2 separate regions of the Homo sapiens genome follow, and region 2 is linked to region 1. Evidence: promoter capture Hi-C in human tissues and cell types (Jung and others, 2019). All regions are on one chromosome and are shown on one strand. Each heading gives the region's core, a stretch centred on a gene start or on the middle of the fragment in contact. The rest is flanking DNA. Distances are from core to core; before and after follow the strand shown. Region 1 holds the start of MIR194-2HG (MIR194-2 host gene). Region 2 holds the start of RASGRP2 (RAS guanyl releasing protein 2).

Region 1 (5,562 bases), core at 1,287-3,786:
TGCTGCCAGCACTCCTTCCTGGGCAAAGTCCAGGCTCAACCCCAAATCGGCCTCATAAAGCCGGGAGCGGCTCGGATTTACAACTCCTGGGCAGCCTTTGCCCGCTCTGATGACCCCACGCCCTCTGTCCCCAAGTTATTTTGTTTCCTTGTTTCTTTCCCAACCAGAGCTGGGCCTCAGTTTCAGGTTTGGCCACTGTCACCTCTGCCCTTTGCCCACCCTCCCTGCTGCAGCCATGGGGCAGAGAGACAGCAAGGGACAGCTGGCACTTGTCAGTCCCCAGGGACCTCCCAGTGCCTGATTTCATGAGGATGGCCTCGTATGGGAAGCTGAAGATGAGACTAAGAAGAAGTGTGGGGGGCTGTGTGGGGGAGGGCACAGAAAGAGGGATAGTGAGGCAGAGGGGCTGAGAGAGGAAGAGAAGAGTAAGGCCGAGGATGGCGGTGCACACCTGGCATCCCAGCACTTTGGGAGACCAAGGTGGGAGGATCTCTTGAGCCCAGGAGTGCAAGACCAGCCTGGGCAACACAGTGAGACCCCATCTCTACAAAAAATAAAAAATTAGCCTGGTGTGGTGATGCATGCCTGTGGTCCCAGCTACTCAAGAGGCTGAGGCGGGGGATCACTTGAGCCTGGGAGGTCGAGGCTCCAGTGAGCTGGGATTGTGCCACTGCACTCCAGCCTCAGTGACAAAGAAAGACCCTGTCTCAAATAAAAATAAGAGGAGCAGGTAGAGAACTAGAAAGGAACAGAGAAAACAAACAGGGATAGTGGATGACGAGGTGTAGGAAGGGGGACGACAGGGAACTGGAAAAGATGTAGATACACAAACCTGCCGCAGAACATGAGGAACAGGCTGTGAGCAGTGGCTCGCCTGGAAGGACGCTTAGGACCTCAGTGGCCTGGAAGACAGCAGGGGCCTGGGAGCTGGGTGACCTTGAGCAAGTAGCGTAACCTCTCTGAACCACTGTCCATATGTCAATCAGGACTTACGAGGCCACCCTGCACGCTGGGCTGGCCTGGTGGGAAGCATCCGCCCTGGGACCCTTGGGTCTCTCTCCGCTGTGGGGAGAGGAAGCAGCTGCTGGCCAGGGTCCCTGAGTGAGCCCAGGGCTCTGTGAGGCAGAGCTTCCTCTTGCAAAGCGTGTTCTCGTCCCTCCCAGACAGGTTCCGGTGACAGGTGCCAGTCCTGCAGAGACCCAGCAGGCATTTTGGGAGACTCCAAAGCTTCTGGAGAGAAAGGGGAGCTTTTAGAGTAGACTTGGGCCCTGCCCCCTTTGCCAGTGGTGCATACAGGCCTAGAGAGACAGAGGGGGCCGCCCAAGGTCACAGAGCAGGGCCCCAGGGCCTGTGCTGCCCCAACAACCTTCCCGAAGTGGCGTCCCCCCTTCTCAGGATGCAGTCAGGGTGGGATGGGGGATCCCTGGGCTGGAATCCTTCTGCCTGGGGGGACAGACCTGCGAAGGAAGACACCGTAGCTGGTGGCTGGCCCTCCACTCAGCCTGGCGGCCCTTCCCACAGAGGCCTGGGCGAGACCAGCCTCCTGCAGCGTGGTGTCCAAGTGCCCTGGCCTGGCAGAGACAGCGCCCGATCAGGAATCCTGGCTCCACAGCTCTGAGCGCTGATGCTAAGGCCCCCTTATCCCACAGTGGAAACCAAGGCACAGAGAGGAAGGGGCTCGTCCCGGCCACCCCATGGCTGTCCAGGTCCCTTTCTTCCTCAGGATTGGCCACCCTTCAGAGAGGTGCCTGGGTTCAGGAGCCTCCTAGGACAGGGAGGGCGGCAGGGGTCCTACCACTCAGGAAGCCTCTTACCTGAGTGCCGGGCTGGCCTTCGGGGCACAAGGAGGAAGTGGGGACACCCTGGGCCCAGGGCCTTTTGAGCCGTTGACCCAGCCCCTGGTGGTGGTTAATGATTATCCCACCACCGTCAATACTGATCACAAGTGCGGTTCGAAGGGCAGGAAGCCCTGGACTGTGCCCGGGCAGGGTGGGGCGGGTCCAGGAAGCATCAGGCTGGGCCCCATCTGCCTCTCCGGGTGGCATCAGCACCGAGTCTCCACAGCCCTGTCTCCTCCAGGGCCTCGCCCTCCTGGTCTCTTACCAGCCTGCTGCCCCAGCTGTCCGTGGGCAGCCAGGACCCCAGGGTCCCTCGGGACAAAGCTTCTGCTCTGTTCCCAGTACCCAGATCTCCCCCACTCAGAAGGGGCCACAGAGCAGGGCTGGGGGACCTTTGCTAACCCCAGAGGCCTGCGGAACCTAGCAAGGTGAGGGTTCCCTGATTCCCAACCCGAGCCTTGGTTTCCCCATGGACCCACCCACCTCTGTGCAGCGCCACTGGGAAGCAGGGCAGGGAGGAGCGCGATGGGAGCAGCTCACAAGAAACAAGATGTGTGGGGGGCAATGGGCGCTCCCTGGTCCTGTGTAAAGCTTTGTGCAGTGAGGGTTGGGATTCCGGCTGCAGCGCTGCTCCAGCACCCCTCCCCCCTCCAAGTGCTGGAGCTGGGACCCCAGATCAGAGTGGAAACCAAGGGGCCAAGGCCTGGGCCACCCCAAAAGCCCCCACTAGGGATGGTGAGAGCAACATCTAGAATGCCTCAGGCTCAGCCTTCCCCGAGTGGCCTCAAGTGACAACCAGGCAGGGTCAGCTGGGCTCCAAGGACCATCCCTCCCTCCCCTGGCAGCCCCACGTAGCTCCTGCCACATCAGGAGTGGGGCTGGAGTGGCAGCCTCCTGGGAGGGGCAAGGCAGAGCCCAGAGCCAGGGGAAGGCGTGCAGGGCTGGGTGCCTCTGGGTCCCCCTGTGCCCTGATCTGCTGGGCAAGGCCAGGAGGCATGGCGACCCCTGGTGGTGACATGGGAGGTGCTGGGTGCAGAGGTGGGATCTGGGGCGGGGCCAAGGTCAAGGCTGAGGCCAGGGTTCACAGGGACAGAGGATCTGAGAGGGGGGCTGGCGGTGGGCAGTTTATTCCACTTCATGCAGACACTGACCCACGCACTCACGGAGCTTAAAAATAATACATCGAACCACACGGATATCATCCCCTCCTCCCCCCAGACACAGAAAGACACTTGGCTGAGTGGGATGGGGTCCGAGGGTCCAAAAGCCTCCGTCCTGGGAGAAGGCAGCAGTGTGGGCCCAGGTCGGGGGAGGGGCAGTGTCCTTTCTCCCCGGAGGAAAAGTGCAGAGCCAGGGCTAAGGCCCCAAGGCAGGGAGGCCCCCCTCTCACAGCAGATTGGCAACGGGCAGGCTGGGAAGGCGTCCTTCACAGTGGCCATCCCCTGAAGGGCCAGGCCGGGCCGGGCCCGTGGGCTGCAGCTCTTGGGAGGCTCAGGAGCATGGTGGGCAGCACCCTCTGGGTGCCGGGCACCCCAGGCTCAGTCTTGGGCACTGTCCGAGCGCCACTTGAGGGCGTGGTCCTTGTGGGCGTCGGGGACAATCTGGTTGCGCATGCCCCCGAGCAGGCTGGACGTGGCCTCCGTGGCCAGGATGAGCGGCTTCACCACAGTCGGGGGCAGCTGGCGGATCACGCCCCCCACGGCGCCCGTCAGCCCCTTCTGCTCATGGCCCCGCGATGCCACGTCACAGATGGTCTGAGCTGTATCCAAGATGCCCTGTGGAAGCCAGAGGTCAGGGCGGGGTCTGTGTGAGGAGATGGGCATGGGGGACTGGGGCAGGGCGGGGGCCTGGTCACCTCTCGCACTGTGTCGTAGGCCTTGGCCACACCCTCCCGCAGGTCGGCAGGCTGCTGGCCCCTGCGCAGCCTCCGCGCAGAGCGCTTATCCTGCAGGGAGCGGGAGACGGGGGCTGCCGGGGACAGGATGTCATACACGGTCTCAGCTGTGGCCTGGGGGACATGGGAGCACTGGATGAGGACAGCTGGCTGGGGCACACGTCAGCCCCAGGCCCCCAGGACAGTCTGAGACCCCACCAGCCCTCAGCCTCCCTGCCTGTCACTGTGCTGGCCTAGGGGGTCCTGCTCAGCCTCACTCCCCACTTCCTCCCACTCTTCCTCCCCTTCCTAGGCACCTGCCACTCTGCTGAGGGAACCTAGGAACGTGGGACTCCTCAGGGGACTTTCCTAAAGTCTTCTCAACCCAAACCTCTCTTCCTGCTGACCACCACATTCAGCAGGTTCCACATGGCTGCCGCAGCTGCACGCCTGAGACTGACCGCTCCTTGCCTGGCCCCCCAGACGCCCCTGCCAGATGGTCAGAGGCCCATCCTTCCTTCTGTCTGCCAGATCCTCTGCCCAGCATCTCACCTGGCATCACTCTTTCCCACCTGACTGAACACTCCCGGGGGCTCCCTGGTGCCCATGCATCCCTCCCACCTCCCCTGGAGCCCTGCCCTCTGTCCTGTTGGGGTCTGAGCTTGCAGGTTCCAGAATGCACCATGCACCTGCACTCACCCCTTAGCCGCCTAGGACCATCGATCCCCTACAGAATTCATCTGACAACTGCCCACGAGACTGGCTCCCCAGCTTCCCTGGGGTCCTTCTGGCCTAGCGAAGCGTATGGCCTGAATGAACCAGGGCAGCCTCTGCGCCTCAGATTCTTAGTCTGCAAACACAGCCGTCCTCCACCCCCCTTTACAAGACATGCCATGAGCAGGAGACACAGTGGGCTCTGAAGGCCTGGGGGGCACTCCCGCTCCTGCATGGGAGCCCCTGTGGGCCTCGGGAGACCTGGCTTGGAGGTCCCAGGCAAGTCACTTAGCCTCTCCGTGGCTGTTTCTCTATAAAGTAGGGCTGTCATACCCAGACTGCCCACTCTGAGGAGCTTTGAGGACAGAACCAGGGAGCTGTGGTGCAGAGGGCTCCAGCTGCTCTGTCCTGCACAGCCCAGATACAGGGCACCCACTCACCTGGATAGCCTGTACCAACCGGTTGCTGAGTTCCAGGGCGGCAGAGGCTGTGGATGAGCCAAAGGAGGCAGCCCCTCGCTGCAGCCCCCGCATGAGGCGGCCATCCTTCCTGTACTGCTCAATGGGCAGCCACAGCAGGTCCCGGAACCCTTGGACTAGGGGGAAGGAGCGCTCAGAGACACCCGAGGCTGCCCTGCCCCCACCTCCTCCTCTTATTCCCAATGGCAGCTTCTAGGTTGCCCAAGGGTAAAAGCAGTTTCGAGGGCTTCCAAACCTAGACACTCACAGAGCTGGACAACCGAGTGCATGGGGCCCACGCCTCCCAGCAGGCCGGGCAGCTGGTTCTTGCGGATGTCCTGCAGCCACTCGTTGAGGGCATAGCCCAGCACCTTGTCCACACCCAGGAGCCTGGCAGGGCAGGGAGGTGAGGAGGCAGAAGGTGAGGCAGAGCCACACATGGAGGGATTGTGGGGTCAGGAGGACTCAGTACCCCTGTGGCAAGTACTGTGGGCACTCTACCCTCCCTGTGGTCCCACCCAGTCATGTGCAGAGGGACTGTGTCCTTTTTTTTTTTTTTTAGATGGAGTCTTGCTCCGTTGCCCAGGCTGGAGTGAAGTGGTGCGATCTTGGCTCACTGCAACCGCCTCCCAGGTTCAAGCAGTTCTCCTGCCTCAGCCTCCTGAGTAGCTGGGATTAC
Region 2 (5,204 bases), core at 1,502-4,001, 150 kb before region 1:
AGAGAAGGGAGAAAGGGGAGGGGCTAGAGCCCCAGGGGAAAGACTCACCTGACCAGGTGGCACGTTTTCACCTGCAGGGAATTGGAGTTGTCCTTCCGGGATTGTTGGTAGGTGAAGGAGAGGGTTAAGGAGGCCGCTTAACTCTAGAAAGGGAGGCCTGCGTGGAGGGAGGCTGGGGGCGGGGCCTGGTTCTAGGAGACACGTTCTAGGGATGGGGCTTGCGCTCTGCGGAGATGCTGGGGGTGAGGCTTGAGCTCTGGGAGGGGTTGGAGGTGGGGGTGGAGGACTAGGTGCTGAGGGAGGCTGAAAGCAAAGCCTGGGCTCTGGGAGAGAGAGATGCACGGGGCGCACCCAAGCCTGAAGCAGGGGCAGGCCCCAGACTCTAGGGAGAAGGAGGGCAAGGCCTCGGCTGGGGACAGAGCCTGGGGACAGGACCGAGTCGCTAGGAGCAAGGAGGGGGCAGAGCCTAGGCCCTAGTTGGAGGCTGGGACGACGCCTGAGCTCTGGGATAAGGAGTGGCCTATACTTAGGAGCGAGGCTCATTCTGCACCTGGGCTGGGCAGAGGGGCTGCGCATGGGCTCCGACGGCGGGGGCCTTGGCAAGGCCGGCGAAGGATATATGTGGAGCAGCTTGGCCGCCAGCTGAGAGGAGGGGATGTACCAGGGGTGCATCATGAGGAACATGCGCACCAGCTGCGGGTCCCGCACCTTCCCGGAGTCATCTGACTCCGAAGGGTCAAAGACAGGTGGCTGAGCTGGGTCCGCAGCTACCATGCCTCATCCTCACCCCGCAACCCGCCAGGTATCGGTCCTTCGGGTGCACGCTCGACCCCGCCCACCTCCTGCTTGCCCAGGACTCCGAGAGCAGGAGGCAAATTAGAGAGGAAAGGTGTGGTGGGCGAGAGATAGGCACGCCCTGAGGACTGGAGGAGGGGAGCGCCCGAGCCGCCCATCGTCCGGAGGGGAACCAGCTGGGGCGGAAGGAGCCTGGGTTCCCCGGGGTCAAGAATCCAGAGGTCATTTCCTGAGCGCTTGGGGGGAAGGGGCACCCCTTCACCAGATAAGCCGCCCCCCATTAGCCGGAAACAGCTCCCAGGCCGGAGATAGCGAGTTCCTCCGGATTCCCCGGGAGACAGATAATGCCCCTCAAGTGTCAGAGTCCGGGACCCGGCCCTCCCTTCGCCGCCGCTGGGGAAGGCTAGAGAAGGGAAACCTCATCTGTCTGAAGGGCGTGCATCTCTCTGCCCTGCGTTGCGGAGGAGGCTTTCGTTAAAGAGACTGCACGCTGCGGAGCAGGGTGGGTCCGGGTCAGGGCTGTGCCCTGGACTGTGCCTGGGAGGCAGGGACCCGGGCTCAGACTCGGGGCTAGGCTCAGGCTCCGTGTGCCCTCCCGAGCCACTCACCGAAGGCTTCGATGCACCCGCGGAGCAGCTCCTCCACCGTGCAGCCCTTGTCCAGGTCCAGGGTGCCTGCCATGGCCGCCGGCGCGGGGTGGGCTGGGCCCAGGCTGCGCTCCGGGAGCCTCCCACCGGGCTCGGACCGAACCCCTGTCCCGGGAGAGGCAGAGCGGGAGTCTGCGGAGTCGCGGGCGGGGGAGCGGCCCCGCGGGCAGAAACGGGGCGGGGCGGGCACGCCCCCTGCTGGACAGGGGCGGAGTTGTCCCCCGCGGCCACTCCCGGGGTTAAACGGTCTGGCCCGGGATGGTGCAACCCGCCAGTTGGGAAACGGACCCGCAGAGAGGCTTCCGGCCCACCCTCGGAGTCGCGGGAAGGCCGAGGGGCTTCACGAGGATGGGGACGAACCAAGATCCCAGGACTGGCTGGCGCCCAGCCCCCCGCAGGGCGCCTTCTCCTCGCGCCCTCTCCCCAGAGGCACCTGCAGCACCCCGCAGCTCGGCTCTGCGCCCCTCCCGCTTCCCTCCCTCCACAGCCTCCCTTCCCCCGCAGGGTTATTTTGGGAACCCAGAGCCTGAGGGGACCTCGGAGGAATTTCTCCCTGGTATGGGAGGTGGGGGGAGAGAACCCAGGCGTCCTGCCCGCCTCGCCCCCTCCCGGGAGCCCAGGAAGGCGAGGCGGGGCTGCGGCAGCCCCCAGGGGGCCTGCCCTAGGGGAGGCGGACTGGATGGGAGAGGAACATTCCTGGGGCGGGGGGAGCCCGCTGCGGCCAGGAGGCGTCAGCGGGAAGCCTGAGCCTGGGAACTGAGCGCTCCCAGGCCACCTCCGCAAAGGTCCCAGGGGTCCCGGCTCAGCTTGTCCACAGGCCCTCTTCCTCCCTATCCCCGGCTCCTGACCCTGGCCCCGGCCCCGCACAGGCGAACTGTGAGCGCGCACGGAGCAGGGTGTCCAGAGGGGGGCGCTCGCGCCAAGGGTGGCCGGTGGGTGCATGACACCATTAGCAACTCCGGTCACTGGCGGGGTCATACGCACCCTGGCAGGGGCAAACACTCCACACCCAAGTTATTCGTCGGAGGCCGGGGACCTAAGTGGAGGTGCAGGCGTCCGCACTTACACGCACCGGGCCACAGGCACCGGCCTCCCATCCTCCGTCTCTCACACACAATGGCACCCACACCCTGTGCACACCTGCACGAAGAAACCCTCAGGCACACATACCCAGCTCGTCCACCCCAGAATGCAAACCCGCGGACGAGGTCGCCTCCTGGACGTGCTGTTCACTTGAGCCAGGCCAGCCTTGAGTCCCGCGGCCACACAGGCGCTGACATCCTCACACGTGTGCACACACGCAAGGCAGTGCCTCTCCACGCATGTACACTCCCACACACATGCACACACCCCCATGGGTGCGCACGCCCATTCCGTCGCCCCCCTCCCATTTGCGGTGCAGGGCCCGCCCTGCGGCCCCAGCTCCCTGACTCCCCTCACTCCCAGATTTTGGCAGAGCCTTGCCCCACGGAAAGGTACCCCGGCCCTACACATACTCACTCCCCCAGGCTGGAGGACAGGGGAGCTCCTGTACGGAGTTCTCAGGCGGACTTTTCCTAAGAGCCACCCAGAGCCGTCCCCGCCTGGCTCTACCGCTTCCTCGTGTGACCTTGAGAATCACTTGGCCTCTGGGAGCCTCAATTTTCTCATCTGCCAAATGGGGGTACGCGGGGGAGGGCCCCGCTGGAAGGTGGCTGGGAAAAGCTGGGTGCACCGTGGAGGTCCTCCGCCCTCCGGGGATCCAGCGCGCCTTAGCTCTCGTGGCCGCTGCCCCCTCTCCCAGACCCGGGCCGCAGACTCCCCACCCGCTCGCCGCCCCCAGCCCGCCCGCGCCGCCCTGGGCGGGGGGGGAGTCGCTGGGGGCCGCGCCCTCCTTCGCCTGGCGCCCCGCCCGCGCTCGCCCACTCACTCTTGGGACCTGCCGCAAGGAGCCCGCACCGGCCTGGCCGACCCCACCTCCGTGCGCTCCCGCCCGCCGGCCTCGCTGCGGCTGCGGCTCCCGCCCGCTCTCCACGCCGCGGCCCCGCTCCCCGCCGCCCCGCCCCCGCCCCCGCGCCAGGCTGCCCCCTCCCCCCTCCGCCCCTGCGCGGAGCTCCGCACCGCCGGCTGCGCCACCCCCACCGGGGGCTCCCTCTCGCCCCGCACGCGGCGGTCCCTGCGGCAGCTTAACCCCTCCCCTGCCGCGCCGCCCGGGAGGCCAGGGCCGCGGGCGGGGGGCTGCGCCACTAGCTGCCCCGAGGGCGGGCGACCGGAGGCCCCGCCGCCCGGGACGCGGAGGGGGGACCGAAACGAAGAGCCCCTCCCCCAACCGCGGACGCCCCAGTGCCCCCCGCCCTGCCTGGGTGTCGGGCGGAGGAAGCCGGGAGGGGCAGGAAGCGGACTGCGGTGGGGAAGGGGCGCCCCGCCCAGCCCCCAGCTCGGGTTCCTGTTTTCGAGACAAACCGTTCCCATGGGGCTAACCCGGCCCGGGACCGGGCGTCTTCCTGCAGGCAGCGGGTGGCACAGGCCTAGTGGAGGTCGGGGGCGTGGGGACAGCTGGTCCTTGAGATAGTCTGGGGGATGGGCTAGGACAAGATGGGAATATTTTGGGGAGAGGGACCTGTGGGGAGCGAGGAATGAAATCGTGGCTATCTGGAGACGCGGCCTTGATGTCTGGGAATGGGGGCGGGGGGCCCAGTTCACACAGGAGGAACGGGGCCCCGGAAGCCTGGCTCCCCACAGGGTCGAATGGAAAGGGGCAGCCGCATGTGGCGGTGGGTTCTCCGCAGCTCGGAGACTGGAGACCTGGATGCCTGGCCAACAGGGAGGAACTTGGGAGGGGCAGCCGCAGGCGGTTGGGGTCCCCACTAGCCGGGCCTAGGAGAGCGGGTAACGGTTTCCGACCATTTGGCTTCAGACACACTCACTGTGAAACCACCGACCCCAAACCTCCCTTCCGAGGCGTGCCCCTCCCAGCCTTGGGGCGGGGGATCCAGGACCGCCCCCGCACCTCAGTCTTGGTAATGTAAGACTTAGAAACAGGACCTTTCTGTTCCTCAGTTTCCCCATAATGAGGGCCTAGACTAGGCGGTCTGCGAGTGTTCCCTGCCGTAACACTCCCCCGACTTTGGATCCAGTGTAGCCACCTGCTAAGAGACCCTTAAACGCCGCAGTAGGGCGGGGCTAAGGGCGGAGCCAAGAAGGCGCCGAGCATCCTCTGCTTCCTCCCCCTCCTGGGTCCTGCCCTCGACAGCGCGGATCCTCCGTGGTCCGGGAAGCCTCAGCCCAAGTCCCGGCTCCCAGCCCCGGTGGGCCCCACCCAGGCAGACGCCCCGCCCCCGGCCAGCGAGGCTGGCCGCTGACCTAGTATGGACACGGCACTGGGAAGAGAGGCGTGGAGGGTGACGCCAGGAAAGGGGCTGGAGAGGCCTAGGCCCCGCCCCCACGGGTCGCCCCCTCCACCTCCCATCACCGTCCCGCCGTGGGACGCACCTGCCGAGGGTGGAGGATAAGGGGGTGACTGCGCGGCTGCTGTTGAGCCCGCCAAGAGCTAAAAATATTTCCCAACAAAGAGGAGTAAGGAGGCTCCCAAGGAGAATGAATTTATTAGGGAGTGGGTGCAGTTGGTCAGACCCCATAAATAGGAGGGGACCGGGAGCCCGAGGACGGAAGGGGGCCCGTGTCCTTAGTCACGCTGGACACTGGGACATTGAGAGTGGGGAAAATGAGGGTTCCAGGAGGGGCTTAGAGATCTAACTCCAGTACCCCACCCTCTGCATGAGG

What was found. Contacts are between HindIII fragments. The study calls those that stand out against the background at their distance.
Region 2: a contact is called between the fragment with the promoter of RASGRP2 here and a fragment that was not itself captured in region 1, in 1 of the 25 tissues and cell types used here (spleen).

Annotation. Positions count from the first base shown.
Region 1 is chr11:64,891,597-64,897,158 of GRCh38, forward strand. ATG2A (autophagy related 2A) reads right to left here. Exons shown (of 41, transcript NM_015104.3): 38 at 5,152-5,273; 39 at 4,866-5,020; 40 at 3,694-3,846; 41 at 2,950-3,613. The coding sequence ends at 3,377. MIR194-2HG (MIR194-2 host gene) reads right to left here and starts at 1,853. Exons shown (of 3, transcript NR_133640.1): 1 at 1,815-1,853; 2 at 994-1,230. The HindIII fragment of the contact is 4,598 bases long and covers 238-4,835 here.
Region 2 is chr11:64,741,391-64,746,594 of GRCh38, forward strand. RASGRP2 (RAS guanyl releasing protein 2) reads right to left here and starts at 2,752. Exons shown (of 17, transcript NM_001098671.2): 1 at 2,613-2,752; 2 at 1,404-1,547; 3 at 620-722; 4 at 49-111. The coding sequence starts at 1,476. PYGM (glycogen phosphorylase, muscle associated) reads right to left here. Exons shown (of 20, transcript NM_005609.4): 20 at 5,008-5,204. RefSeq lists silencers at 1,419-1,748, 2,059-2,108, 2,269-2,318, 3,309-3,418, 3,669-3,868 and 1 more. The HindIII fragment of the contact is 18,641 bases long and covers 1-5,204 here.